4 separate regions of the Homo sapiens genome follow, and regions 2, 3 and 4 are each linked to region 1. The links are contacts of gene promoters, found by promoter capture Hi-C in human tissues and cell types (Jung and others, 2019). All regions are on one chromosome and are shown on one strand. Each heading gives the region's core, a stretch centred on a gene start or on the middle of the fragment in contact. The rest is flanking DNA. Distances are from core to core; before and after follow the strand shown.

What was found. The method cuts DNA at HindIII sites, captures the fragments that hold promoters and counts their contacts. A contact is called where the count stands out against the background at its distance.
Region 2: a fragment that was not itself captured here is called in contact with the fragment with the promoter of S1PR3 in region 1 in 1 of the 25 tissues and cell types used here (dorsolateral prefrontal cortex).
Region 3: a fragment that was not itself captured here is called in contact with the fragment with the promoter of S1PR3 in region 1 in 1 of the 25 tissues and cell types used here (thymus).
Region 4: a contact is called between a fragment that was not itself captured here and the fragment with the promoter of S1PR3 in region 1, in 3 of the 25 tissues and cell types used here (dorsolateral prefrontal cortex, hippocampus and small bowel).

What each region holds. Positions count from the first base shown.
Region 1 is chr9:88,986,998-88,994,651 of GRCh38, reverse strand. S1PR3 (sphingosine-1-phosphate receptor 3) reads right to left here and starts at 3,184. Exons shown (of 2, transcript NM_005226.4): 1 at 2,957-3,184. RefSeq lists a silencer at 3,344-3,638. The HindIII fragment of the contact is 13,055 bases long and covers 1-5,949 here.
Region 2 is chr9:87,710,015-87,717,668 of GRCh38, reverse strand. No RefSeq gene overlaps it. Among named protein-coding and RNA genes, the nearest start is that of CTSL, 12 kb to the left of the region's middle. RefSeq lists an enhancer at 3,083-4,282. The HindIII fragment of the contact is 5,621 bases long and covers 550-6,170 here.
Region 3 is chr9:87,943,988-87,951,641 of GRCh38, reverse strand. It overlaps the pseudogene LOC645937. Among named protein-coding and RNA genes, the nearest start is that of CDK20, 27 kb to the left of the region's middle. RefSeq lists an enhancer at 1-4. The HindIII fragment of the contact is 9,656 bases long and covers 1-7,654 here.
Region 4 is chr9:87,979,708-87,987,361 of GRCh38, reverse strand. All of the region lies in intron 1 of LOC105376131 (a long non-coding RNA gene), which reads right to left. Among named protein-coding and RNA genes, the nearest start is that of CDK20, 9.0 kb to the right of the region's middle. The HindIII fragment of the contact is 6,657 bases long and covers 46-6,702 here.

The sequences.
Region 1 (7,654 bases), core at 1,935-4,434:
CGAGCATCTGCCTCCGTGAACACCATCCTGAGCTTCCAGACTTGTGTGTGGGAAGGCAAGTGCGTCTGAGCCAGGAGGTGTTTGACCGCTTTGCCTGTCCATGAGTCTTTTTAAACCTTCTCCATTCTGCTGCTGCTTCATGACAGCATAGGATAAATGATTCTCAAGATTTCCACAGGGATGAATCCACAGGGATGTGGAAATAGGCTCTGTGAGGTGGCTAAAGGCACATTCAAATAAGAGGCATCCTGCCCACGAAGGCTACCGGAGATCCTTCCTATCCCTTCCCAAAGCGGCAGTCTCACCTGGTGACTCGGCATGCGTGCCACCTTGCACCATGGACATAGCACACATGGCCTCATGGCAGCATCTGCCTTCTGAATGTACACAGGAGGAGACCGAGGCTGGGGGAGGGGGGGTGTCACTTGTCCTTAGTCACAGAGCTGGGAAGGGGCTGGGCCGGTGTCCGTGCCATCTGATTCCAGGATGTCACATTAGGGATGAGCTCTTTGGGAGGCTGCCACCTTGCCACTGGTTCTTTGCCTAGGTAGTGACAAGAGATTCTCTGGCATGTTTTAGAGACAAACTGCCTCATGCTCCCATGCCAGCAGAATGTTAGCATGTCATTCTGGGGGCACTGAAATATCTGGAAAATTTTGAAGCCAGGAAAATGGAGCGGCATCTGCAAGGCCGAAGAGCACCATCCACTGCTTGAGGAGCGGACCGTCACCTCGCTGTGTGAGCTGACCCCAGTCCGGCCTGTGAGCAGTGAAGATCCACTCACTGGGCACCAATCTGCACTGGACAATCTCGTCACTGATTTAACCCAACTGGCCTATTGTCTCTTACAGACACAGCTTCAATGCCTCAAAAATAGGATTCAAAAAAGGGAAGGAGACTTTATGCCCAGTAGCTATAACAGTAACATCAACTGAAACATGTTATTAACTGAAACTAGATACGATTCCACTCAGTCTATTCTTTTTCTTTTTTCTCAAACATTATACATTTCCAAAAGCTTAAGGAAAATCTTAAGGCAATTAATTTGGCAGAAAACATATGGCAGAGGAATAATAGGAAATGCCTCCAAAACTGATAAGAAAGGAATTACAAAGCCAAATATGAAGAAACAGAAAGTTTCATAGAACCCACAGCACAGCACCCTGGTTCCAGCTAAGGTAAACAGACTGCATAAGGCTGGCGGCCTGGCTCTGGTAACACTTGGGAAACAGTACAAAGTCCTGGCAGTTAAAGGGTTCTACAGCAGGGCAACCTCAGATTTTTCAAGATTGTGGCATGCTCAAATTCTCCTTTTTTTGGTAATAAAAATATACCTACAGTATATAATAAAAATATACATACAGCACAGGCATTGAGGAAGATGAAAGAGATACCATGAAATCAAGTTAATGTCATAATTTCCAGAAAGAGGAAACCAGTTCCTGAATTTTGAGAAATAAGATCCTTCGGCCACTATGTGAAGTTTCTTCTATAGGAAACTGTAGTCTCTACCCTTTGTATATGGTAGAAAATCAGAGACTCATGCATTTGAATAAAAATCACAATGATAAAGGGAGAAATGGCACTTTCAAAGATGAAAACTGGTTGAGAAATCATTCTCTCTAAATCTTAGGGGGAGGCTCTTAAGGGCTAGCTTCAGTTTGTATCTCTGGTGTTAGGTGATGGAAGTGATTTCAGAGGCCCAAAGTGAGTGCTTACTGGTTTGCTAATGAAAAAAGCCTGACGTGCGGTTCTTCTTCTATGGCAACAAAGTTATTCAACCTAGCATTAAGGTCTGCATCCATGAAATAATACTTTACAGATATGAACACTTCCACAACTCCTCAAGCGCACACACACACACACACACACATGCCCCGCACCATCACCACCTCCTCAACCAACACCAGCCCTGGGCATGGCCAGCTATCCTTGTTAGTCATGTATCTGCAGAGCATAATCCTTCCCTTGTACTTTCTAGGAATTATATTTTTCTTAACTATGCCTGCAAGATTTTCATCTATGAATAAAAAACATTGAAAAGATAAATTATGAATATGTGGTTATATACAAAGTCTGTGACTTCTAATGTCCAGATTTTAGAATGATGCCTAATTCTGGAGGTCTCAGAGGTCCAAGTGGGAGTGGGTACCATGAATGGGGGGGCCTCCATTTAAAAGTAACCTTCTAAAGAGCTCTCTGTTCCTGTAGCTCCCCTTTCCTTATTGGAAGGGTCAAAACGAAGTGTGTTCCCTTAAAAATCCAACAAGAAGTTCCTCTCTTATATCCAAATATAAAAACACCACAAAGAAATATACCATTGGGAGTGTCCAAAGCCAGAAAGTCAGAGGAAGAGAGAGAGAGAGAGAGAGAGAGAGACTGACTATTGGGAGACTCAAAAAGCCCAAAGCCCCTTCTCTAGCTGTTATCTCAGTTACGAACACAACGTACTGATTTTCCGTGGGAACCTCATTATTGCACTGTGGGGACTTCGTCTTCCAGCACCGATTCTGACGGCCCTAATTGCCTTGTTTGAGAAATGTTAGGAAAAAACTAATTTTCCGGCGAATATTGTTTAAAAGAATGATTTTCCCAGGCTAACGACCACAACCCTCTCCCACGTCCAGCATCCCCAGGCCCTGGCACTGTGGAAGCCTAACTTGTTAATTGTCCAAGGAAAACGACTGATGGAACTTCTCCACGAACAGCCTCTCCACTTTCATCCAGGTATTCAGCTCCAGCCCGTTGTAAACGCTCCGGGTGCGGTGGAAAAGGCCTCCTCCCTGTTCCTGCAGCGGCTCTGGGGGAGGGGTGCTGATGTGGAGCGCTCCGGCCGCCGTGGCGCGCCCAAGTCCCCGTCGCGCCCGGGATCGGTGGGGATTTTGTTGGAAAGGTGGGTCCTTCGGCCCCCAGCCCCCCACCCTGGTTCCGCGCCCCGCCCGGGCCCGCCTCTCACCTCCGTCGGCTGAGGGCGCTGGGGCCACCGGCATCCTAGCGGGTGGCGCGCGGCGGTGCCGGGGCGCCCGGTCCTGCGCTCGAATGCCAGATGGGCTGGGAGGCCCGGCAGTCTCAGCGCTCGCGACGTCGTTCCCGGGCCTGGGGTCCTGCTCGGTCGCGTCCTGCAGCCGCCTTCTGGTCCCTGAGTCCCTGTTGCCCGTCCCCGGAACCGGCTTCCTCGGCCTCTGCCCGAGCGAGTCAGAGACTAAACTTTTCCAGCGGCCCGCCGGGGCGGGACCCGCGCTCCGCCCCTCCCCTCGCCGCCCCCGACTCCCGCCCCTCTCCCCGCCCCCCTCTCCCCGTCCCCCGCCCGCGAACCCGGCACTCCTCCAGCTCCCCACCTCCCGCTCAAGCCGCCTGGTCTCCGTGCGCCCCGCCCGCCCCTAGCCTGGACCCCTTCTCCCCGACCCTACCAATCCCCTAGGGTCCGGCTCGCCCTTCGGCCCCTGTTCCCAGGCCGGCCTCCAGACCTTGTCCTCATCGGGCGAGCTCCAGGTGCAGAAACCGGGCGCCCAGAGACCCAGCGGGAACAGGCTTGGAACCAGGTCCGAGGTCTGGGCTTGGGCGGGCGCCTGTCGCCCTGACAGCGAGGGTTTGTTTGGGCCGATTCTTAATAGGAGGATTAATACTATCATTATCGTTGTCCAGATCCTGACCATTTCTTTTGTAACTGGCCGAGCACCGGCTTGGGCTTGCAGGTGGGCGCCTGGCGCCGGACAGCGTTTTTGTTTGGGCTTCTTCCTTTTCCGCGCGGGTCCCCTCCGGCGCCTGCCTGGTCCCTCTCCGCGCTCTACCCCCAGGCACGCAGAGACTTGGGCTCCAGGCGGGGGCAGCACTCTCCCCCAGCCTCTGCTGGTGCACCAGAGCCCACTCCGGCACAGAGCAGCGCCCCTCCTAGACCGGCAGCCAGCAGATCTCAGCCGACCCCCATGCGACCCCCTTCCTCACGCGGATTTGCCCCTTTTGTGTGGCAAAAATAATAATAATAATAATAAATCCATATGAAGGCTTCAAACAGAATTCCGAGAGAAGGAACTGCCAAATTTTCAATCAATGCCAAAGGCCATGATTGAGCGAACACAGAAACAACTGTAGAAGCTTGGGGAGAAAGGAGAAAATTAAAGAAAAAGGAGGAGGAGGAAAAGGAGAGAGGAGAGAAGCGGGAGGAAGAAGACGAAAAAGCAAGGAGAGGCCTGTTATCCGACCGTGCATTCCTGGGCCGGCAGGATTGGGCCGCAGGGGCCGCTGCAGAGAGTTGAGTTTGTGCAAAGGCCGCTCGTTACTTTCTGTCTTTTGCCCTCTTGCCTCCAGAGGATCAGCCCAGCGCATCCTTCTCTTGGAGCAGGGTGCATACGCTTATTTGGGGTGCAGTTTGAGCGGTGAAGGGCACCAAGAGTGGAAGTCGGCGGCACTCCTGTTCCCTGCAGAGAAACGCAAGCCCTCAGCAATTGAGCTGAAGGAGGCAAGTGACTCTGCCTGCTGAGGCTGCCAGCCCTAGAGGCTCTGGCCCCCGGGAGCTGGGGTACTTCCCAGCGTTTTCGCCTAAGCCACTTCGCCTGTGCTACTGTGGAGTCTTCCGGCACTGTAGCCTTCCAACTTGTTCAAAGTGCCTGGTGCACGGCTCTGAGAAGCCACTTCTGTCCCAAGTTTCATGTGGGCCTGAATGTGCTTCCCTTTGTTGGACTCCTACAGCATCAAGTCAAGAAAAGAAGGAAACATGCTCCTTTGGCATTGGTCACAACCAGGATAACAATACAGCATACTGTGGCCACTGTGTCTATATTACCAAAGTGGTCAGTAGGTTCATCACACCTCTGTTCAATTAGTTGCTTCCCGTGATGAAAAATTTACTGCTAGGATACTGGCTGAGGGTTGTTTTAAGGGGCACCCAAGTCTCCGTTCCTAGAGAAAGTCAGTTACCCTGATATAACAGAGCAACCTTGAGGCGTGGTGATGCCTCCAAAACTAGTCTGCGGAATCGGAGCCCAGAAGCCCTGAGGAGTAATGTGGCTCTCATGCTTTATGGCAGGTTTCCCTAAGAGAGACCCAGGATCTGACCCATGGCATCACTGAAATTCCTCTTTCAGTGAGGCTCCGTTTGCCTAAAGATCCCTGTCCTCAGTGGGTCTCCCCACACACGGGCCTCTCACTCACCCACTGCCCCACCCCCATCTGCTGCCCTCTTCCTGGGCCTTAAAGCTCAGACACTAGACTCTGACAAGGAGCCCTCCATGCCCCGGTAGAGACCATCTTCTCTCACCACTCCTTTTGAGAGAAACAGCCCTCCCTACAATTCTGTTGAATAAGTCTCCTCCTCTGCATCCTGTTTCACAAGTGAAAGCAGTTTAACAGAAGAATGCCAGCTCATAAACGTAGAAATGCGAGAATGAGGAAATCCCCATTCTGTAACCCTTAATGAAATAATTAAATCAGGCAGTGTGCACTAGTGGGTGTCAAACCCTTAGGTGAAAGTGTGCAGGCGAACGGGTGCTAATTGGAAAAAAAAAAGAAAAAGGTTTTCCATTTTCCATTTTTTTATGGAGACATCTGGCTGTACCTTACAGGAAGATCAAACTCAGTGTCACTAATACTGGCTCAACCTGGCATTATGTGATGCAAAAGAAACACACAACATCATTGTTGCTGTGTGCTTGCCAAAGATGCTTCAATTGAATCAATTGCAAAGCCTCTAGACTTTACTGCAAGTTTACAGGAAATGGAAGAGTTTGAGCCATGAGTTAAATGACACCATGGGAAAAACTGGACTACCAGAGTGTGGGCATTCTGCAGTCCTGAGCTCTTCCAAAAAAAATCAATGTCAAGAAAAAGGGGTGAAGGATTCTTCTGGTATAAGAACAGCTGAAAAGAAGAAGTATAACAATAAGTACAAATCCGGATTGACTCCCAGCTGGACAAATCAGCACACACACACGCACACAAAAACATTTTGGAGGAAATTACAAATTGGAGGGGATATTGACTGATAGTATAGAATTATTGTTAATGTTTTTAGGTGTGATAATGGCATAATGTTTGTTTAGGAGAATGGCTTTAATTTTAGGAGGTGCTGCTGAAGTATTAAAGGGTAAAATGTCTTCATGTCTAAAACTTATTTTAAATTGTTCAGCACAGTACGTGCACATAAGCTGATATGACAAAAGGTTGGTGATTATTGGTTCTACGTGGTGGATTTAGGGAAGGGGTTGTACAATCTGTTCTCCTTCTTTGTATCTTTGAACTTTTTCCATAATAAAAAGTTGGAGAAAAATAAAATGGCAGGTACTAAACAACTAAAAAATTTCTCTACCTTTGCGCTTAGACTTTAAATCAAATCTAGGCTTATGGGAATAAAATTGAAAGATACTATGAGTTATATCTGTATACTTTTGAAAATCATGTGGCCCCAAACTTAAATATGATTTGAATAAATGTATTATATATCACAATTATGTAATATAACCTTACATGCTTTTTTAATTAAAAAAATGAAATATATTCACTTTCCCAACAATTTAGTGTCCACAGCCTGGTGAGCAGGTACAGTGTGGTTAAAGGACATGCAGTTTTAAGATTCAAACTCAAAGTGAGCCCTTTCTCCAGCAGAACGAGTGCACCGCAGGAGAGCAGAATTGTCTCAGAAGAGCTGAGTAAATGCACCTCCTTTCTCGGTCCCCTCTGCCCTCCCAGCATCTGCTTCCAGGATCCCAGGGTGCCTCCCCAAGTTTCTGGGTCTGAGTTAATCTGCACTATCTCTACTCTTAGCTCTGTTTAGCGTAAAGGCTGCAACAGACAGTCATTATCTGAGTAAATGTGCATGCATGATATTTTTTTGTTTGTCTGAGGCCTCTTCTCAGGAAAATGTGTGTTGGTCACAGTTTGCACACATGAGCTTGACACTTCAAGTCCTGAAGGTTTCCAGAGGAGGACTGCCCCCTGCAAGGTGGGGTCTAACAGATAGTTATGATGGTTAATTGTATGTGTGAACTTGACTGGGGCATGGGGTGCCCAGATATGTGGTCAAACATTATTCTGAATGTGTCTGTGAGGGGGTTTCTGGATGAGATTGACAAGTGAGTCAGTAGACTGAGGAGAGCAGATGGCCCTTCCTAGTGTGGGTGAGCCTCACCCAATTAGTTGAGGGCCTGAGTAGACTGTTATTGAAGACAAAAAGCCAACACTCTCCCTAGTTAGAGAGAAGTCTCTAACTAGGAGAATCCTCTTAGGACTGGAACTGGGACCTTGGACCTATAGACATTGGATGTGTCAGCTTCCATAATTGCATGGGCCAATTCCTTATAATAAAGCCTTTGTGTATGCTATAGGTATACCTCCTGTGGATTCCGTTTCTCTGGAGAGCCCTGACTGATGCAGTGGCCCCAGGGAAAGGGCAGAACCTCACAGATATGGCCACTGTGGCAGAAGGGAGCCCGGAGCTACAGTGGGGATAAGCGGCTTGTGGTCAGTCCATCTGCACCTTGCCAGATATCTCAGAGCCATTTCTTCTCTGTCAGCTTGCTCTACACAGAACTTGGGGGAAATCACTTTAAAATATTGACCCCGATGTGGATTTGTAGAATGAAACTTGGCTTTTTGTATAATAACTCTGTCTTGACCCAAATGAAGCCTTTGACTCACTGCCAGAGCTCTTTAGGGAGGC
Region 2 (7,654 bases), core at 2,111-4,610, 1.3 Mb after region 1:
CCACAGGCCCTCCCTCTAGCAACTCTGAGCAATCTACATAGTCTGCATGAGCAGACAGATAATCTGCTGCTGCATACAGGACAAACAGAGCTCACCCCTGCTCACTAAGGCTCACCTCCTAGGATGCCTCCTAGGCAGGCAGAAGTTAAGGCTGGCTTGCCACACTCACATTCTAGGACCAGGGACCTGCACCTGCCCTTGCTACGCTGACCAGTCTCCCAGGCTGTCACCACTGCCCTTGGAAGAGCTCACACTGCTGATATTCCAATCTCCTTTCTTGCTCTTGCCAAGAGGTGGCAAGAGGGTCTCCTTATTCACCTGCCCACTGAAAACCAAAATTTTTTTTTTATTATAGTAAAATAGACGTAACATAAACTTGACCATTTTCACTATTTTTGAGAGCGGCATGAAGTTCATCGCATTGTTGTGCCACCATCACCGCCATCCATCTCCAGAACTTTCTCTTCATCCCAAACTGAAACTCCTAACCCATTCAACAGTAAATCCTCATATCCTTTTCTCCTAGCCCCTTAATTTAAAATGGATAAGGATAGTATTTTTGAAATAATAATGTTTATTTCCTGTTGACTTTCTTATTGACAATCTGCCCTTGATACAGGCAGAGGTATCCATTGTCTTGGGAATAGTTAAGATTGTGAAAGGGGAAATGGAATGAAAAAGAGCCAAATGTTTGGGGTTTAGCTTCTATTAATAAAACAAAATTTTTGAGACCCTGGCTTTCAGCAAAAAGCCAGTCTTTATAAACAGAGGCAAATGTCCTTCCAAATTCCAACAGGCTCCTGGGAAGCTGGGTGGGCACTCAGGATGGCCTCGCTCCAGGTCACCTTGCCTTGCGCCACTGTCTTTAGGAGTGAAAACAATCCATAAGCAGCATCATAGCTGTGCCAACAAATAGTGGGGCGGGTATCGTGGAGGAGGATTCAAGGCGTCTTTATAGCCTGGAAGACAGAACAAGGGATGAGAAATACAGGTGGTAAGTGTCAGCTCACGTAGGAATTAAAATCTGCTTTTCCAATCCTCCATCTCTGGGACCATTTGAGCGGAGACCGACTGACCCTCATATTTCATGGCGGGTGATGCTCTGGCTGAACTTCGAGACATCCCATTTCCTCCTGACTGTTGGATCCTATGCCCCTATGTTAAGAGCAACCAGAAATACTGTGCTTCCTAAAGTGTGGCCCTCCCGCAGGGACCTTGGGTAAGTTTCAGTGTTCAGGGGATGGAATAAACATTGTCATGAAATATGTCATGAGACGGGGCCTGAGGGCTTTTCCTGAACTTCTATGCATAGCAAAGAGCAAAGGCTCCTGAGCAAACAAAACACAGCAATAAACCTTTAGAGTCATGTTGCCCATGGTGAACTTTTCACAATTCCAGGGAAATGGAGAAAAATGAAGAGCACTGGGTAATTTTTTTCCCCTAAGATTAAGTTATTCCATTGAAAGGAATGTTAATTATTCTAGGACTGTAACCTTCCCACTTTCTCTCTCTCTTTTGTTTCCTTCCTTCCTTGCCTTCCTTGCTGCTTTTTTTTTTTTTTTTTTTTTTTTTTTTTGCTCTGTCTTGCTCTGTTGCCCAGGCTGGAGTGCAGTGGCACAATCTCGGCTCACTCCAGCCTCTGCCTCCCGGGTTCAAGTGATTCTCGTGCCTCAGCCTCCCCGGTAGCTGGGATTACAGGAGCGTGCCACCATGCCTGGCTAATATTTGTATTTTTAGTAGAGACAAGGTTTCGCCATGTTGGCCAGGCTGGTCTTGAACTCCTGGCCTCAAGTGATCTACCCGCCTCGACCTCCCAAAGTAATGGGATTACAGGCGTGAGCCACCGTGCCCCGCCCTTCCTTGCTGCTTTAATTTTTTTCATTTGGAATTTTTTTCTCTATTTATTAATTTCTTTCTTTCCTTCTCTTTCTTTTGGGGCACTATGATTGGTGACAGCATTGGATAGTTATTGTAGTTTCTGTGTTCTTTGCAAAACAAAGTGTCAGAGTGTCAGTCCTCCATGTTCTTTATAAAAGTTTGCTATTTCATAACATTCCCAAAGTGTGGGAACCACTGGCAATAGCAAGGCGTCTCAAGGTTTAAGAGTCAGTTAAAAAAAAAAAAAAAAAAAAAAAAAGGCGGCCAGGCACGGTGGCTCATGCCTGTAATCCCAGCACTTTGGGAGGCCAAAGTGGGCGGATCATGAGGTCAAGAGATCGAGACCATCCTGGCCAACATGGTAAAACCCCGTCTCTACTAAAAATACAAAAATTAGCCAGGTGTGGTGGTGCGTGCCTGTAGTCCCTGCTACTCAGGAGCCTGAGGCAGGAGAATCACTTGAACCTGGGAGGCAGAGGTTGCAGTAAGCCGAGATCGCACCACTGCACACCAGCCTGGCGACAGAGTGACAGAGCAAGACTCCATTTCACAAAAAAAAAAAAAAAAAAGCTACTCTTTATTGAAAATAGCTTTAAGGGGCAGAGAGAAGTTATAAGATTCCTTTTTATTTCTCATTTTCAAATAAAAAATGAAAATAGTAATTCCAAAATGACAAGAGAGAATCTATTCAAGCGTTTAGTGTACTTTTGCCTGGCTTATGGAGGGATAAGATAAAAATGTCACTGGGTGAAAACAATGAGATAAATTCACAGCTGGGAACATTGCACAATATCACCAGTGTTGCATGTTTGCTCAGTAGCTGGCTGTTCTCCATGTCAGCAGGATGTATGTGGCTTGTTTTGACTCCAGGTCCTCCAGGAGTATGTGTCCAACCACCAAGGTGGGCAGCAGAGTTTGGAGGCCAAATCCTTTGGTACCTGGAGCGGGATAGCAATGGAACCACACAGAGAATGGCCCAGAGCACTGGGAAGGGTGCCTTCTCAGCAAAAGGCACCTGCACAGAAATTCAGCCCATAAAGCCAGGCAGAGAAGGACATGAATGACAATTGGATAATGAGTGTTGGCATTAAAAAGCATTTAAAATAAGTCACTAGACAATTAAACTTGCAATGTCAGAAAATCTTACAGCTTATGTATAATCAAATGAAACTAAACTTGATAGAGTGTTCACCAGATTTGACAGTAATCTTTAAAATTTATGACATTGCCTGTAATGGGTTTTGAAGCTCAAAGTTTTCTAAACTGGTAATAAATGTAATTATTGAGTAATTAATCTCTTGTGATGGTGGAAAGAATGAATTTTTTCCGTTCTTGCTAAAAGAGTAAGATTATAAAAGCTGTTATATGTAGCAAAAAATTTGGTAAAAATTATTATAAAGTGTGTTAGCCATTGATTAATAAAATAATGTTTTTCTGGAAGAAAAGAAAACCAGATAGAGTGCAACATAAATGCAAAGTTTTGCTCAGCAATTAATGTTTTCTCTTTTTGGATTTTAATTGTTATGTGCCGACAGCCCAAAAAGCCACATATATCATGTCCAGTCCGAAATACAGAAAAAAATGTGCATAAAGATGTTTAGCCCAGCTTTGTTTTCAACAGGGAATAACGCCTGAGTGTTTCACAGTAGGGAATTGGGATATGACAATATTATTATAGCATTTTGCAGCCGTTAAAAGGAATGTTTCTGAAAAGCTTCTAATAACATTGTAAAAAAGCTGTGTCATAATCTTCCGTTTAAAAAAAGCAGGGTATAAAATTGAACACTTCATATGATTTCAGCTACATTAAAACATGTCTAGAAAATACAACCAAAGGGAATAAAAACTTTCATTGCCTCAAATTACCCCAAAGGGAAAGGGCAGCCCATGGCCAGGAAGGGCCAGCCTCAGAAGGACTGAAGTTGCTGACTTGTGCCTACGGCGGCAGCAGCTGCTGGTTTCTCCTTCCATGTTAATCTGGGTCACAGAATCTCGTGATTTACAGAAGCAGCTCTGGCTCATTCTTGGGTGACTGGCCTGCCTTCTTGGAAGACAGGATGATGCTCATCAACGCTGGCTGTGACGCAACCTGAGGACTCTGCAAACCTCCCGTGGGGTCACACACTGGGGCAGAAGCCCCAGCATCTGAGTGTCCGCTTTGAGGATGGAGCGAGTGGGATGGGTGAGGCAGAGAGGAAGAAACTTCTCCGGATGTCCTGGTTAGTCACCCTGATTGTGGGAAATGCACACTCATGGCTGAATCAGCAAGAATCAAGTCTCTTGGTCAGAAAAAAAAGCCATTATGGCCTAAGAATCTCTCATGACACACACACACACGACACACCACACACACACCACACCCCCCCCACACACACACCACACACACACCACACACCAAACACACACACCACACACCAAACACATACACACCACAAACACCACACACCAAAAACACACACACCGCACATACACACATCACACACACCACACACACCAGATACACACATGCACACACCACACACACCAAACACAACACACACCACACATATACACATACATATGCCACACATATGCGCACACCCCACACACACACCACACACGCACACACCACACACAACCATACCACATGCACACCACACACGCACACACCCTACACACCTCACACACACACCACACACACATCACATAAACACACACCACACACACCCCCACACACACCACATGCACACACACCACACACACAAAGCACACACACATGCACACACATCACACACACACATATATGCACATACCAAAGACACAGACTTACCCCCATATATACATGTGTATACACATGCGCAATACACATATACACATGTGCATATGCACACTAACTCTGCTACACATATGCACATGACACACGCACATACATTAATATACATGTACACAAATGCACACATTTATGCACAAAATACAGATGCATACACCTGCATATCCGTGTACTCTCATGACACACACATGCACACACACATACAGACTGCAGTGTAATATACTTAGTAGAATAGGATGAGGGGCCCTCAGTTGGGGTCAGATGGCCTGATGCTTAGTCTGAATTGTTAATAATTGAACTGTGTAATTTTGCCTGAATCTTTTCATCTCTGCTTCCAGCTGCCAGAGTGCGGTTGACTCAAACCATCTGGAAGTTCTCTTTAGTTGTAAAATTCTGTGATTTCAATGGAAAAGATGGTATCATTCATCCAGAGCTCACCTGAGCTCCTTCTCTCTACCCTGAGGAGAATCCTGGGGGCTGGAGTCACAGCATAGGGTGCTTGGGAGGCCGTCCTCACCCAGCACCAGCCCCAAGAGTGTTGCCACCAGGGATAGCCCAGCGTCCCCGAGGACCTCTGCTGTGGGCATTCCTGTGGCTTCTTCCCCCTCACACCCACACACTTCTTCCCTCCTTTCTGATAAAGAATCAAGAATTTGCCGTGGGAGCAAATAGGCAGGAACCAGCAAGCTTCTGAGGCCCAGCGCTTCCAGGAAGAGATCAGCAGCTGTCTGTCCTGAAGGTATTTCCAGGGTTCCTTTCTGCTCAGCGGAGGTGGAAGGGAGCTCACTGCTCCTTAACTCTCCCTGTCAGAGGTGCCCCTGGTCCACCCTCTCTGGCCATGGCATTCATTTAGGGCAGACAAGCGGTTCCTGTCCTGAGTCAACATCTGGAAGCCACCAGGCCCTGGGCTGGGAGGATTTGGAGCCTGTCATCAGCATGTGACTTTTGGTTGTGATGCTACAGTCTGACCTCACCCTCAGGTTGCCACCCAAAGCCCAGCTATGCTCCAGATCGCTGAAGATTGCCCTTGAGAGCAAATTCCTCAGGCAGCTGTGGAGCTGAGCCCTGAGGACTCAGTGAGCCAGGGCTGGGCCCTCACCCTCACACTATTCCTCATAAACAGTTCAGTTTAAGTTCTCAGGAATGCATAGTCCTGCAAAGACTGTGGCGCTGGGTCTCAAATACGAATTCAAACTAAAAACAAAACCCTCTGCCAATCAAAAGAGGAAAGAAGCCAAACAGAACTCTCACTTCTTCCCCCTCTGAGGACCACTTTAAAGTTTTTTTTTTTTTGAAATAACAAATATTAAATTCTTTAAAAAGCAATCAATCCCTTTTCCTGTTCCCCTTTTCTGGGGGGCTCCGCTTGGCTGAGCTGCTCTAAATACAGTAGGTAGTCTTGTACATTACTCTGCCAGCTTTATTGTTACCTGGACATTTTTAGGTTTCAGCTTTATCTTTTTAGTTTTTTTTTTTTTTTTAAAGAAAACTGTGGTAATATAGAGAAACACAAAATTTACTACTTTACCCAACTTGAACTGCACAGATCAGTGGCATTCAATACATTCATATTGTTGTGCCATCATCACCATGCCCTCCAGAAACTTTCTTCATCTTGCAAAACTGAAATCATCTTTTAATTCATTCATTCGTTTATTTTGAGATGGAGTCTCGCTCAGTCGCCCAGGCTGGAGTGCAATGGAGCAATCTCATTTCACTGCAACCTCTGCCTCCCGGGTTCAAGCAATTCTCCTGCCTCAGTCTCCTGAGTAGCTGGGATTACAGGCGCCCCCTCACCACGCCCAGCTAATTTTTTTGTATTTTTAGTAGAGACAAGGTTTCACCATGTTGGCCAGGCTGGTCTCGAACTCCTGACCTCAAGTGATCTGCCTATCTTGGCTTCCCAAAGTGCTAGGATTACAGGTGTGACCCGCCACGCCCGCCTCCATCTTTTTATTCTTTTTTTTTTTAGACGTAATTTTTGCGCTTGTTGCCCAGGCTGGAGTGCAGTGGTGCGATCTCAGCTCACTGCAACCTCTGCCTCCTGGGTTCAAGTGATTCTCCTGCCTCAGCCTCCTAAGTAGCTGGAATTTCAGGCACACACCACCATGCCTGGCTAATTTTTTTGTATTTTTAGCACAGACAGGGTTTCACCATTTTGCCCAGGCTGGTCTTGAACTCCTGACCTCAGGTGATCTGCCCACCTCCGCCTCCCAAAGTGCTGGGATTACAGGCATGAACCACTGCACCTGGCCCATCTTTTTACTCTTAATGAAAGCTTCCACTTCTAAGCTCAGATCTGCGCACTTCCCTCTTGGTTTTACAGCCCGGCTATTATCTAGCCATTGTTTATGCAAGAACAGCCACGCTGGGCCCCTCACTTTGGAGTGACTTTTCTGTGGTCACTCTATCAGGGCTTAGTAAGACCAGTGTGGACTCTGAACAGCGACAGGGCCAAATATAGTTTTATGATTTTTGTGAATCCTGTAGTTGTCACCCTAACAGCTTTTCTACAAAATAGACCAGCAAAATTTCCACCAAGTTCTGATTCCTTTTAGAAGGTGTAGGGGTTGAGATTTTGGAACCCATTGCAACTCCCACAAATGCCTTCAAGCCCACACCGTACTGGCTTTGGGTCCCTGGGATACTTTTGTCCACACTGGAGACCTCAGGCACCCCAAGGTGGCCCAAGTTTGGACGTGGTACCCAGAGGCTGTTACACTATAGTAAAGAGGTGACGAGGAACATGGCAACTGAGTGCATTTCACAGCAACTCTAAGAGACAGGGTCCCATGATTGGCTTTTCTTTCTGACTCCTAGAATTTGCACCTTTTGATTCTCACTATGGACACAGGAGGTAAGCTATGGTCTTGTTTCCTCCCACCTGCAGGGGAGAGAGCCAGCTGCATACAGTGGGCAGTGGCCAGTTTCAGCCTGACCAGAGCTCCTGGTACAGAAGCTCCTGGT
Region 3 (7,654 bases), core at 3,230-5,729, 1.0 Mb after region 1:
TGGGACAGTGTGGGAGCTAGGCCTGCCTCCCCCTGTAACACTGGTCTAAAAAGGATGCAGCTTATTTGCCAGCTGCAGCCTCTGCCCAAGGGTGTCCCAAAGCCTAGAGCACCTAACAACCCAAAGATCTAGTGCAGAAGGCTTGGGACAAAACTAGCTGGCTAGGCCAGCTCCAGGGCAGACACTAGGAGACCCAGTCTGGGTAGCACAAGCTGGGTGGTTCCCACAGCCATCTGCTGGGCAAAAAACCCTGGGCCACAGGTGCCACACCAGCTGCACACCCACAGCAACACCACCCTCCCCAGGGATCCTCTACCCTTGACCCAGTGCATCCACAGACACCTGCAGACATAACCCACAGCCTGCTTGGACTCTGCCAAGCACAGAGGATCAGTGGGCCCTTGGGGAGCTGCAGGTCTCCTGGAGTCCTAACCTTCAGTTCAGGCTGCCCCTAAGGGAGGCAGGAGCGCAGCCTGCCAGAGCCCCCCTTGGGGCTAAGGAAACATGGGGGCAATGCCAGTGATTGGAGGAGCTTCCCTAAGGCCTGAGAATGCACTTAGTGAGGGGGTCATCTCTCACTGCCCCCTCCTCAGTCTCCCCCACCCAAGAGTACTGCTGCAAACATGCTAAAATACAGAGGAGGCAGGTGGCTGAGAGCCTATCTGCTGACCCTTACACTTTAGCACCATCTACTGGATTATGGTTTTAATTACACCACCAAACGAAAATGCCTTCAGCGCACATCACCTGTGAAAGCCAATGCAGGTGTCTAGCCACAAATAAAGATCCTGTAGGAAGCCTTGGCCCTCTGAAAGCACCTAGAAACTAAACCTATCAACTATACTCAACATACCGCACAGTCAAACCTTCAATGGAAATAAACATATAAAAACAAAAAGCCACATCCAATGACAGCAATTTCAAAAAGACAAAGGAACATAAGCCCTCTCAGATGAGGATCAGTACAAAACGCTGGCAATTCAAAAAGTCAGAGTGTCTATTTACCTCCAAAAGATCACACTAGCTCCCCAGATTGAAATGGCTGAAATGACAGAGAATTCAGAATCTAGGTGGCAAGGAAGCTCAACAAGCAGCTAACAAACATATGAAAGAATGTGCATCATCACTAATCATCAGAGAATTCCAAATCAAAACCACAATGAGATACTATCTCACAACAGTCAGAATAGCTATTATTAAAAAGTCAAAAAACAACTGATGCTGGCAAGGCTGTGGGGAAAAGGGAATGCTTATATGCTACTGGTGGCAATGTAAATTAGTTCAGTCACTGTGGAGAGCAGTTTGGAGATTTTTCAAAGAAGTAAGAATTGAACTACCATTTGACCTAGCAATCCCATTACTGGATATATACCCAAAGGAAAACAAACCATTCTACCAAAAAGACACATGCATGCGTATCTTCATTGCAGCATTATTCACAATAGTAAAGACATGGAATCAACCCAGGTGGCCATCAACAGTGGACTGGATGAAGAAAATGTGATACATATACACCATGAAATACTATGCAGACATAAAAAAGAATGAAACTGTGTCCTTTGCAGCAACATGGAAGCAGCTGGAGGCCATTATCTTAAGTGAACTAATGCAGAAACAGAAAACCAAATACCACGTTTTCATTTACAAGTGGGAGTGAAACATTAGGTACAAATGGACATAAAGGTAGGAACAATAGACACTGGGGAACACGAGATGAGGTATAGAGAGGAGAACAAGGGCTGAAAAGCTAACTGATGGATACTATGCTCACTTCCTGGGTAATAGTCAATCATACTCTGAACCTCAGCATCACGCTATATACTTTTGGAACAAATCTGCGTATGTACACCCTGAATCTAAAATAAAAGTTGGAAAAAAAACCCCTACTCATTCCAAGAGCAGGCAGAAAAAGACAGAAATGGGAATGAACAGAAGATGGGACAAACAGGAAGCAAACTATTACAATGGTAGAATTAAGCTCAGTTATGTCAATAATATTAAATGTAAATGGCCCATCTAAACAGCCCCATTAAAAGGTAGATATTGTTCAATTAGATAAAGAATTAAGATTCATCTCTATGCTTCCTATAAGAAAAACACTTTAAATATAAAGATGCAAAGAGGTAAAAGTAAAAACACAGAAAATGATATACCATGGTAACACTGAGCAAAAGGAGCTATAGTGGCTAAATCAGTAACAAAGTAGACATCAGAGAAAAGACAATTACCAGGGTTACAGAGAGTCATTTCATAATGATAAGGGGTCAACTAATCAAAAGTTTATAACAATTGTATATATTTATGTACCTAATAATTTCAAAATACATGAAGCAAAAACATATAGGATTAGAAGAAAAAAATTAAAAAATCCAAAGTTATACTGGGGAGATTTCAATACCTTTTTCTCAATAACTGATAAAATAAAAATAGACAGAAAACCAGTGACAACATAGAAGACTGAAACATTATCGGCTGGGCGCGGTGACTCACACCTATAATCCCAGCACTTTGGGAGGCCGAGGCAGGTGGATCACCTGAGCTCAGAAGTTTGAGACCACCCAGGGCAACATGGTGAAACCCCATCTCCACTAAAAATACAAAATAATTAGCCGGGTGTGGTGGCGCATGCCTGTAGTCCCAGATACTGGAGAGGCTGAGGCAGGAGAATTGTTTGAGCCCCTGAGGCAGAGGTTACAGTGAGCCAAGATGACACCACTGCAATCCAGCTTGGGCTACAGAGTGAGACTCCATCTCTCTCTCTCTCTCTCTCTCTCTCTATATATATATATATATATGTATATGGGCCATTTACATTTGATATTATTGACGTAACTGAGCTTAATTCTACCATTCTAATAATTTGCTTCCTGTTACCATATACCATTGAAACACAATGTATCAATGTGTGTGTATATATATATAGTATCAATGTATATATGTGTGTATATATGTATCAATGTGTATATATATACAGTTTATGTATATATAAACTATATATATAAACTTGCTGTAATATTAATACTCTACCCAATAACATATGTTCCTTTAAAATGCACTAATAAGATTTCCAAGATAGACTGTATTCTTGGCCATAAAACAAGTCTTGATTAATTTTAAAAAGATTTAAATCATATATAGCAGACCACTGTGAAATCAAAGTAAAAATCAATAACAGTATCTCTAGAATATCTCCAAATACTTGGATATCAAACAGCACACTTCTAATTAAACCATGAATCAAAGATATCAAAGGGGAAATTAGAAAGTTTTTTTTTTTTTTCCTGAGACAGAGTCTCACTCTGTCACCCAGGCTGGAGTACAGTGGCATGATCTCAGCTCACTGCAACTGCCACTCCCAGGTTCAAGCGATTCTCCTGCCTCAGCCTCCTGAGTAGCTGGGACTACAGGCACCCGCCACCATGCCTGGTTAATTTTTGTATTTTTAGTAGAGACAAGGTTTCACCAGCTTGGCTAGGATGGTCTCAATCTCCTGACCTCGTGATCCACCTGTGTTGGCCTCCTAAAGTGCTGGGATTACAGTGACAATCAAAACACAATGTATCAAAATTTGTGGAGTGCAGACAAAAGGTCTGTATTAGAAAAGAAAGCTCTCAAATCAGTGATTTCAGCTTCCTACCTTAAAATACTAGAAAAAGATAAAAATGGATTAAGGACTTACATGTAAGACCTGAAACTGTAAAACTCCTGGGAAAAAAGTAAAGAAAAAGCTTCATGAAATTAAATCTTGGCAATGATTTAATGGATTTGACACAAAAAGCAGAGGCAACAAAAGCAAAAACAAACAAGTGAGACTATATAAAACCAAAAATCTTCTGCACAGCAAAGGAAATAATCAACAGAGTGAAAAGGCAACCTACAGAACAGGAGAAAATACTTACGAACCATACAACCAATAAGGGGTTAATTTCTAAAATATATAAGGAACTGCTATAACTCAATAGTGAAAACTCAAATAACTCAATTAAGAATGAGCAAAGAACTTGAACAGATATTTTGCCAATGAAGACATAAATGGCCAAGTGTCTGAAAAGGTGTTCAAATTCATCAATCATTAGGGAAATGCAAATGAAAACCACAATGAGATATCATTTCTGTATTAGTCCATTTTCACACTGCTATGCAGAAATACCTAAGACTAGGTAATTTATAAAGAAAAAGAGGTTTAATGGACTCACAGTTCCACATGACTGGGGAGGCCTCACAATCATGGTGGAAGGCGAAGGAGGAGAAAGTCATGTCTTACATGGCAGCAGGCAAGAGAGCGTGTGCAGGGAACTGCCCTTTATAAAACCATCAGATCTCATGAGAATTATTCACTATCACGAGAACAGCAAGGGAAAAACCACCCCCAATGATTCCATTACCTCCCACCAGGTCCCTCCCACAACATGTGGAGTTTATGGGAACTACAATTCAAGATGAGATTTGGGTGAGGACACAGCCAAACCATATCAATCTCATACCTGTTAGGATGATTATTATTAAAAAAAACAAAAGATAAAAGTGAGGTTGTGAAGAAATTGGAACTCTTGTACACTATTGGTGGGAATGTAAAATGGTACAGCCACGATGGAAAACTGTGGAGATTCTTCAAAAACTTAAAAATGGAATTACTATGTGATGCAGCAATTGCACTCCTGGTTATATATTCAAAGGAGTTAAAATTATGATCTCTAAGAGATATCTACACACCCATGTTCACTGCAACACTATTCACAATAACTAAGATACAAAAACAACCCAAATATCCACTGATATATGAATGGAAAAAGAAAATGTAGTATATATATATATATACAATGGGATACTGTTCAGCCTTAAAAAAAAGAAAATTCTACCATTTGTGACAATATGGATGGACATAGAAAACATTATGCTAAATGAATTCAGTCACAGAGAGACAAATACTCCATGATTCCACTTAAATGAGGTATCTAAAATAGTCAAACTTATAGAAGTAGAAAATAGAATAGTGGTTGCTAGGGGATAGGGGAGGGGGAAATGGGGAGTTGCTGAATGGGTGTATAAGGTTACAGTTAGACAAGATGAGTAAATTCTAGAGACCTGTTGTACAACATAGTGCCTACAGTCAACAATATGGTATTATGCACTTAAAATTTTAAGATCTCATGTTAAGTGTTCTTACCACATACACACAAAACAATAAACAAATAAACAAAAAGCAACAAAAGGACACAAGAAAACTTTTGTAGGGATAGTATCACGAGAATATGCATATGTTCAAACTCATTAAATTGTACACATTAAATATATATAGTTTTTAATATATCAATGATATCTCAGCAAAGCTGTTAAAAAATTAAGCTGACATACACAATAAGCACAACAAATTGGAAGAGAATATGAAAGTTAAATAAGCCAAAGGGAAAGATAAAGAAAATAAGCCAAAGGGACAGATAAAGATTAGTAACCATGAAATAGAAAAGAGAAAAAATATAAAGAAATGAATTAAAAATGGTTCTTTGAGATTAATAAAGTCATAGATTCTACAGATATTCAAAGGATATAAGAGAATATTAACAACTTTATGTTAATATATTCAACAACTTAGATGAAATTCCTTGAAATAGATAAATTACCAAAGGGCACTCAAGAATAAATATATCTATTAAAAATTAAACATAGTTAAAAACATACCCACAAAGAAAACCCTAAACATATATGGCTTCACTGTCAAATAGCACTATATATTTAAGGAGTAAATAATGTTGATTATACACAAACTCTTCTAGAAAATTGAAGAGGAGGAGACATTTTCCAACTTACTCTATAAAGCCAGTGTCTCAGTCCATTCAGGCTGCTATCACGAAATAACTTATACTGAGTAATCTATAAACACAAGAAAGTTATTGCTCACACTTTTGGAGTAAGGATAGACCAAGATCAATGTGCCAGCAGATTCAGCATCTGTCAATTCCTCATCGATGGCACCTGCTATGTGTCCTCACAAGGTGGAAGAGGTGAATGAACTCCCTTGTGCCTCTTTTATGAGAGCGCTAATCCCATTTATGAGGTCTCCACCCTAACGAAATAATCATCTCCTAAAGTTCCCACCTCTTAATACTATTGCATTGGTGGTTAGGTTTCAATGCAGTGAATTTTGGGGGAAACACAAACATTCAGACCACAGCAGCCAGCATTACTCTGAAACCTTTTTTGGTTTCAGAGCAGATATTACAGGAAAATAGATATTACAGGAAAATAAAACTGCAGATGATAATCCCCACCATGCACACAGACACAAGAATTATCCAGTTAATAAAAATGTAGCTAAATGAATCACACAATATATAAAACAGTTCATACATGATGACTAAATGGGGTTTATCCCAGAAATACAAGGTTGCTTTAATTTTGAAAATCAATTAATATAATGTGCCATATTAACAGAATAAAGATGAAAAATTCTATGACCATGTCCGCAGATGCAGAAAAAGCATTTTACAAAATCCAATATTAATTCCTGATTAAAAACTCTCTGGAAACTATGAATTGAAGAAACTTCCTCAACCTGATAAAGTATACTGACCAAAAACCTGCAACTAACATCGTATTTAGTGAAAAAATGCTCTTCTTCCCACGCCACAGGAGGACTTCCCAGCGCTCGGCGGCCCCCGCCCACCCCGGATGCCGCGCCCCCAGGCTTCAGCGCTGTGGTGCTCCTGAAGGGCACGCCTCCCCCTCCCCCACCAGGCCTGGTGCCCCCAATCAGCAAGCCGCCCCCCGGCTTCGCTGGCCTTCTGCCTAGCCCCCAACCCCGCCGCCGCCACCACCACCACCACCACCACCACCACCACCACCACCACCACCACCACCACAAAAGCACCCAGGCCGCCGCCTGCCCCACGGGCCTACCTAGTCCCCGAGAACTTCTGGGAGAGGAAACTTCAGCTCATCCAGTCCATCAGGGACTTCCTGCAGAGCGACGAGGCCCGCTTCAGCGAGTTCAAGAGCCACTCAGGGGAGTTCAGACAGGGCCTGATCTCCGCAGCCCAGTATTACAAGAGTTGCCGGGGTCTGCTGGGGGAGAATTTCCAGAAGGTCTTTAATGAGCTGCTGGTCCTGCTGCCCGACACGGCCAAGCAGCAGGAGATCCTGTCTGCACACACGGACTTCGGCAACCGCGAGAAGACTCTCAGCACCAAGTCCAAGAACAACAAGAAGAGTGCGTGGCAGGCCACCACCCAGCAGGCGGGCCTGGACTGCCGTGTGTGCCCCACCTGCCAGCAGGTGCTCACGCATGGCGACGCCAGCAGCCACCAGGCGCTGCATGCTGCCCGGGACGACGACTTCCCCTCCCTGCAAGCCATCTCCAGGATCATCACGTAGCTCCTGCCAGCGTGGCCAGAGCTATTGCACCATGAGCGTCCTTCCTCCTTCCTCTCCGGGCTGCCAGGCAGCCAGGTCAGGCCCGGTGAGGCCACCTGGCCTCTTGGTTGGCCAGGCCCACCAGGAAGTCACCAGGACGGTCCACCTGCCCTGTTGGCACACTCAGGCGGGAGTCCACCCCTGCCTCAGTGGTGGGCCAGTCTCGGTTTGCATTCTTGTGCTTTTGGGAGGCGCCAGGGGAGGGAAGGGCTGGGATGCTGGGACCTGTTGTTGCTGGCAAAGC
Region 4 (7,654 bases), core at 2,125-4,624, 1.0 Mb after region 1:
GAATTGAAAATCAAAACCACAATGAGATACCACTTTACACCCACTAGGATGGTTGGAATAAAAAAGACAATAGCAAGTGTTGATGAGGATGTGAAAAAGTTGGAACCCTCATACATTGCTGGTTGGGAATGTAAAATGGTGCAGCCATTTTGAACAGTGTGGAAGTTCCTCAAAAAGTTAAACATACAGTTACCATGTGACTCAGCAATTCCAATCCTATGCAGATACTAAAGACAAGTGAAAACATAAGTTCACACAAAAATTGTACATAAATGTTCATAGCAGCACTATTTATCATAGCCAAAATGGAAACACTCCAAATGTCCATCACTGATTAATATATAAACAAGATATGCAGCCTGGGCAACATAGCAAGACCCCATCTCTATGAAAAATTTTAAAACAATTAGCCAGGTGTAGTGGCATGTACCTGTAGTCCTAGATATTCAGGAGGCTGAGGCAGGAGGATCTCTTGAGCCCAAGAGTTCAAAGTTACAGTGAGCAATGGTCATGCCACTGAACTGCAGCCTGGGCAACAGAGGGAGATACTATCTCCAAATAAATAAATAAATAAATATAAACAAGATATGCTATATTTATTCAATGGAATATTATTCAGCCATAAAAAGAAGTACTGATATACATTTCAACGTGAATAAACCTTGAAAATATTATGCTAAGTGAAAGAAGCTAGGCACAAGAGGCGACTTACTGTATGATTCTATTTATATAAAATGTTCAGAAGAGGCAATTCCATAGGGACAGAAAGTAGATTAGTGTTGTCAAGGACTGGGGGAAGGGAGGAATGTATACTGACTGCTAATGGGTGTGGGCTGTTTTTGGAGGGTGACGAACTATCTGGATTAGATAGTGACAATGGTTGCAATCTTGTGTATGTAACAAAAACATTGTAAATATGCTAAAACATTTAATCATACACTTTATAAGGGGGAATTTTATAGTACGTGAATTCTATGTCAATTAAAAACTAACAGTTGGCCATATTAGTGTTAGTCTACTCTTGAACTTGATTCCCTTCCATCTATTTGTATGTCTGCCCCTCTGCCATATCATGCTATCTTGATTACAGTAGTTATATAAAACCTCTTAAAATTGGGTAGGGTGAGTCCTCCAACTTTATTCTTTACCTTCAAAACTTTAAAAAAATAGCTATTCTAGAGCCTTTGCTTTTCCATGTAAATTTGACAACCAGCTTGTCTCCATCTACAGAAAATCCTGTAGTTACCTGGTTGATGGTGCTGTTCAGTTCCTCTATACCCTTGCTGATTTTCTGTCGGGTGATTCTGTCAATTACTGTGAAGAGTGTTAAAATGCCTGACTATAATTGAGAATGTGTCTACTTCTTCTTTCATTTCTGTCATTTCTTTTGTTTAGTGCATCCACATTTTTGATTATATCTTCTTAGCGAATTCATCCTTTTATCATGATAACGTTCTTCTTTGATTCTGGTAATTCTCTTTGCTCTGAAGTCCACCTTATTTTCTAATAATGTAACCATTCTAGCATTCTTTTGATTAGTGTTTTCATTGTCTATACTTTTTTATTACTTCTTTTTTTTCTCTTCTCCTTTCTTGTTTCTTCTTTCTTCTTGTATAAATTTAGGGGGTACAAGTGCAGTTTTGTCACATGAATGTATTGTGTAGTGGTGAAGTCTGGACTTTTAGTGTAACCATCACCAGAATAGTGTACATACTCATTAAGTCATGTCTCATCTCTCACCTCCCTTCCACCCTGTCAAGTCTCCACTGTCTATTATTCTACACTCTATGTCCATGTGTATACATTATTTAGCTGTTACTTATAAGTGTGAATATGCCATATTTGACTTTCTGCTTTTGAGTTATTTTACTTAAGATAGTAAGCCGGGTGTGGTGGCTCATGCCTGTAATCCCAGCTCACCCTGTAATCCCGGGTGACAAGAGCAAAATTAGCTGGGTGTAGTGGTATGTGTCTGTAGCCCCAGCTACTCAGAGGCTGACATGGGATGGTTGCTTGAGCCTGGGAAGTGGAGGCTGCAGTGAGCTATGATTATACCATTGCACTCTAGCCTGGGCAACAGAGGAGCCCCTTTCTTAAAAAAAAAAGGAAAACGGGAAAAGAAAGCCAGGCACGGTGGCTCACGCCTGTAATCTCAGCACTTTGTGGGGCCGAGGTGGGCAGATCACCTGAGGTCAGGAGTTTGAGACCAGCCTGGCCAACATGGTGAATCCTCAACTCTACTAAAAAAATACAAAAATTAGCCGGCCACGGTGGTGTGTGCCTGTAATCCCAGCTACTCAGGAGGCTGAGGCAGGAGAACTGCTTGAACCCGGGAGGCAGAGGTTGCAGTGAGCCAAGATCCTGTCACTGCACTCCAGCCTGGGTGACAGAGCAAAACTCCGTCTCAAAAAAAAAAAAATATATATATGTATATACACGTATATACACGTATATACGTGTATATACGTATATACACGTATATACGTGTATATACGTATATACACGTATATACACGTATATACGTGTATATATGTATATACACATATATACATGTGTATGTGTGTATATATATATAGATATAAAAATGATATCCAGTTCCATGTTGCTGCAAATGACATGATTTTATTCTTTTTTTATGGCTGTTGGGAAAAGGGCTTGTGGGGTGCCTGCATAAACTGGCCATAAAAATATGGGACAATAAGTTGTGGAAAGCCACAAGAGGCCTCTGAGGAGGAAAGTCTTCTAATTGCCATAACGTTCCCATGACCAGAGCGTGACCTGCTCTCTTATCTATAAACACTGTGCTCAAGGAGAAAGACACTCCTTTGAAGCATTGGAATGTGGCCAGATATGCCGGCTCCTAGTTATGCCCACTCCCGATAGCTGCTCTCCAATAAGTTAAAGAATAAATCAGTAGTTAAGTTTATGCTGCTTCAGCACAAAGAAAATTTACCTAAACCGCCATTGCTATAGATTAGGTGTATGTCACACCGCCCCCCGCTTTCACCGTTTCACCCCTGAACATCTGCTTCTTAGATCTAAGTGACTGTACTCAATAAATAGTGTGGAGACCAGAGCTTGGCACCTTCGCAGCCTCTGATTTGTTCTGGCCCCCTGGCTCCCACCTTTATGAACTCTTAACCTGTCTCTTCTCATTCCTTTGTCACCACCGGACTTTGGGTACCCTACGGGTGGTGTTGGGGTTGGTCCCCAACATATGGCTGAGTAGTATTCCTGTATATACACATACATATATGTGTGTGTGTGTGTATAAAACATTTTCTTTATTCAATCATCCTTTGATAGACACCTAGGTTGACTTAGGTTGATTCCATATCTTTTCTGCTGGAAATAGTGCTACTACATACATACAAATGCAGGTACCTTTTTGATATAATGATTTCTTTTCCTTTAGGTAGATACCCAGTAATGGGATTACTGGATTGAATGGTAGTTCTATTTTTAATTCTTTGATAAATCTCCATACTGTTTTCCATAGAGGTTGTACTAATTTACATTCCCACCAACAGTATATAAGCATTCCCTTTTCTCTGTATCCTCGCCAACATTTTTTTTTCTTTTTTCTTTCTTTTTTTTTTTTTTTACAATTTATTTATTTTGAGACAGAGTTTCGCTCTTATTGCCCAGGCTGGAGTGCAATGGCACGATCTCGACTCACTGAAACCTCCGCCTCCGAGGTTCAAGCAATTCTCCTGCCTCAGCCTCCCTAGTAGGTGGGAGTACAGGCATGTGCCACCATGCCAGGCTAATTTTGTATTTTTTTAGTAGAGACAGGGTTTCTCCGTGTTAGTCAGGCTGGTCTCAAACTCCCGACCTCAGGTAATCCACCCGCCTCGGCCTCCCAAAGTGCTGGGATTACAGGCGTGAACCACTGTGCCTGGCCTTTGACTTTTTATTAATAGGCATTCTGACTGGTGTAAGCTGATATCTCATTTTAATTTTCATTTCCCTGATGAGTAGTGATGTTGAGAATATTTTCATATGCTTGTTGGCCATTTGTATGTCTTTGTTTGTCAAATGTCTGTTCATGTTCTTTGACTGCTTTTAGTGGGGTTATTTGGTTTTTGTTGTTGTTGTTAAGATGTTTGAGTTCTTTGCATATTCTGGATATTAGTCCGTCAGATGCATAGTTTGCAAAATATTTTCTCCTATTCTGCAGGTTGTTATTCACTGCGTTATTTTTCTGCTGTGCAGAAACATTTTAGTTTAATTAAGTCTCATTTGTCTATTTTTGTTATTGCTGTATTTGCTTTTGAAGTCTTAGCCATGAATTCTTTGCCTAGACCAATATCTAGAAGAATTTTTCGTAGGCTTTCCTTATGTATATTTATTTTATACTTCGGTTAATAATGTACTATTATATTTTTTATTTTCTTGGTCAAATTGTTCTAGCTTTGGCCATTAGGAATTCTTTCAGCTGGCTCCTGTGTCTCTATAACATACCCCCATCACTTCTTTTTACAACTTCTTAGTTTTTGTCACTACTTGTTTTCAAACTATTTATATTGTTATATTTGGAATGAGTTCGTTGTAGATGGCTTATGGTTGGGTCATGTTTTCTTTAGATTCATTCTGTTTGGTGTTCACTCAGCTTCATGAATCTCCCTTTCCGTATATTGCTTTTTTATTCTGTTGTGTCCTTTGATGCACAGAAGCTTTTAATTTTGATAAAATCAAATGTGTCTATTATTATTTTAAAATTTTGATTGACATATAGTAATTGTATGTATGTATGGGGTACATAATGATGTTTTGACAGGTACAGTGTCCAATACATAATGTATAAAGATCAGATAGGGTAATTACCATATCCATTATCTCAAATATTTATCATTTATTTGTGTTGGAAACATTCAATATCCTCCTTCTACTTATTTGAAACTATATATTATTGTTAACTAATATATAGTCATACCACAGTGCTACAGAACACTAGAACTTATTCCTTTTATCTAACTAGTTGTAATTTTGTATCCTTTAACAAATCTCTCACTATGTACCCCCCCTTCTCCACTACAAGTATGTTCTGTTCTACTTTTTACTTCTCTGAGATTAACTTTTCTTGGCTTCCACATGTGAGAATATGTGATGTTTCACTTTCTGTTCCTGGTTTATTTCACTTAACATACTATCCTCCAGTTCCATCTATGTTGCAGTGAATGACAGGATTTCATTCTCTCTGAGGCTGAATAATATTCCATTATATATATATACCACATTAAAAAATTCATTCATCTATTGTTGGACACCTGGGTTGATTCCATATCTTGGCTGTTATGAATAGTGCTGTGCTGCAATAAACATGGGGATGAAGATGTCTCCTCAACATACTGATTTCCTTTCCTTTGGATAAATATCCAGTAGTGACAGCACTGGATCTTATGGTAGTTCTAGTTGCAGTTTTGTGATGAATGTCCATACTGTTCTCCACAGTGGCTGTACTAATTTACGTTTTCATCAACAGCATATTAGAGTTTTCTTTTCTCCGCATCCTTGCCAGGATTTGTTATTTTAGCCATCCTAACTGGGATGAGATTATACCTTATTGTAGTTTTGATTTGCATTTCTGACAATTAGCATCATTGAGTACTTTTTCATATGTTTCTTGGCCATTTGTATGTCGTCTTTTGAGAAATGTCTTATCTAGATCATTTGCCCATTCTTAAACTGAATTGTCGTTTTTGTTTTGTTTTGACTGTTGAGATGTTTGAGTTCCTTGTGTATTCTGGATATTAATCCCCTGTTGGATGAATGGCTTGCAGATATTTTCTCAGATTCTGCAGGTTGTCTGTTCACTGTGTTATTTCTTTTGCTGTGCATAAGCTTTTTAGTTTGATATAATCCCATGTGTTTATTTTTGCCTTTGTGGCTGTGTTTTTGAGGTCTTACTCATAAAGTCTTTTCCCAGACCAATATCCTGAAGCACTTCCCCTATGTTTTCTACTAGTAGTTTTATAGTTTTTTGTGTTACTTTTAGGTCTTTGATCCATTTTGGGTTGATTTTTGTATAAGGTGAGAGGTGGAGGTCTAATTTCATTTTTCTGCATATGGATATCCAATTTTCCCAGCACTATTTGTTGAAGACATTGTCTTTTCCTCAGTAAGTGTTCTTGGTGCCTTTGTCAACAATCAGTTTGCTATATATATGTGGATTAATTTCTGGGTTCTCTATTCTGTTCCATTGGCCCACGTGTCTGTTTTAAGGTCAGTACTATGCAGTTTGTGTTACTACAACTTTGTAGTAGATTTTGAAGTCAGGTAGTGTGATGCCTTCAGTTTCGTTCTTTTTGCATAGGATTGCTTTGGCTATTCAGAATCTTTTGTGTCTCCACATTGTTTTTAAATCTTTTTTTCTATTTCTGTGAAGAATGTCATTGGCATTTTGATAGGGATTGCATTGAATCTGTAGATTGCTTTGGGTAGTATGGTCATTTTTTTTTTTTTTTTTTTTTTTTTTTTTGAGACAGAGTCTCACTCTGTCACCCAGGCTGGAGTGCAATGGTGCAATCTCGGCTCACTGCAACCTCTGCCTCCCTGGTTCAAGCTATTCTCCTGCCTCAGCCTCCCGAGTAGCTGGGATTAGAGCTGCCTGCCACCGTGCCCGGCTATTTTCTGTATTTTTAGTAGAGACAGGGTTTCGCATGTTGGCCAGGCTGGTCTCAAACTCCTGACCTCAGATGATCCACCTGCTTCGGCCTCCCAAAGTGCTGGGATTACAGGTGTGAGCCACCATGCCCGGCACAGTATGGTCATTTTAACAATATTAATTCTTGTACTCCATGAGCATGGGATGTCTTTCCATTTATTTGTATACTCTTCCATTTCTTTTATCACTGTTTTTTAGTTTCCTTGTGGAGGTCTTTCACCTCCCTGGTTGGATTTATACCTAGGTATTTTATTATTTTTTATTTTTTGTAGCTATTGTAAATGTGATTGCCTTTCTTTTTCAGCTAGTTTATTGTTCAAATATAGGAACACTACTGATACTTATATGTTGATTTTGTATCCTAAAACTTAACTAAATGTATCAGTTCTAAGAGTTTTTTGGTAGAACCTTTAGGTTTTTCCATATATAAGATCATGCCATCTGCAAATAGGGACAATTTGACTTTCTGCTTTCCAATTTTGATACCCTTTCTTTCTCTTGCCTAATTACCCTGGCTATTATTACATTTGTTGCCTATGTTTTTAGTGTTACATGAAGAAGTCACTGTCAGGCCAGGTGCGGTGGCTCATGCCTGTAATCCCAGCACGTTGGGAGGCCGAGGCAGGCAAATCATGAGGTCAAGAGATCGAGACCATCCTGGCCAACATGGTGAAACCCTGTCTCTACTAAAAATACAAAAATTAGTTGGGCGTGGTGGCATGCGCCTGTAGTCCCAGGTACTTGGGAGGCTGATACAGGAGAATTGCTTGAATCTGGGAGGCAGAGGTTGCAGTGAGCCGAGATCATGCCATTGTACTCCAGCCTGGCAACAGAGTGAGACTGTGTCTTAAAAAAAAAAAAAGAAGTCACTGTCAAACCCAATATTATGAAGCTTTTCCCTTATGTCCTTATGTTCTCCTCTAAGAGTTTTATAGTTTTAGCTCTTTCATTTAGGTTTTCTTTTTTTTTTTTTTTTTTGAAACAGAG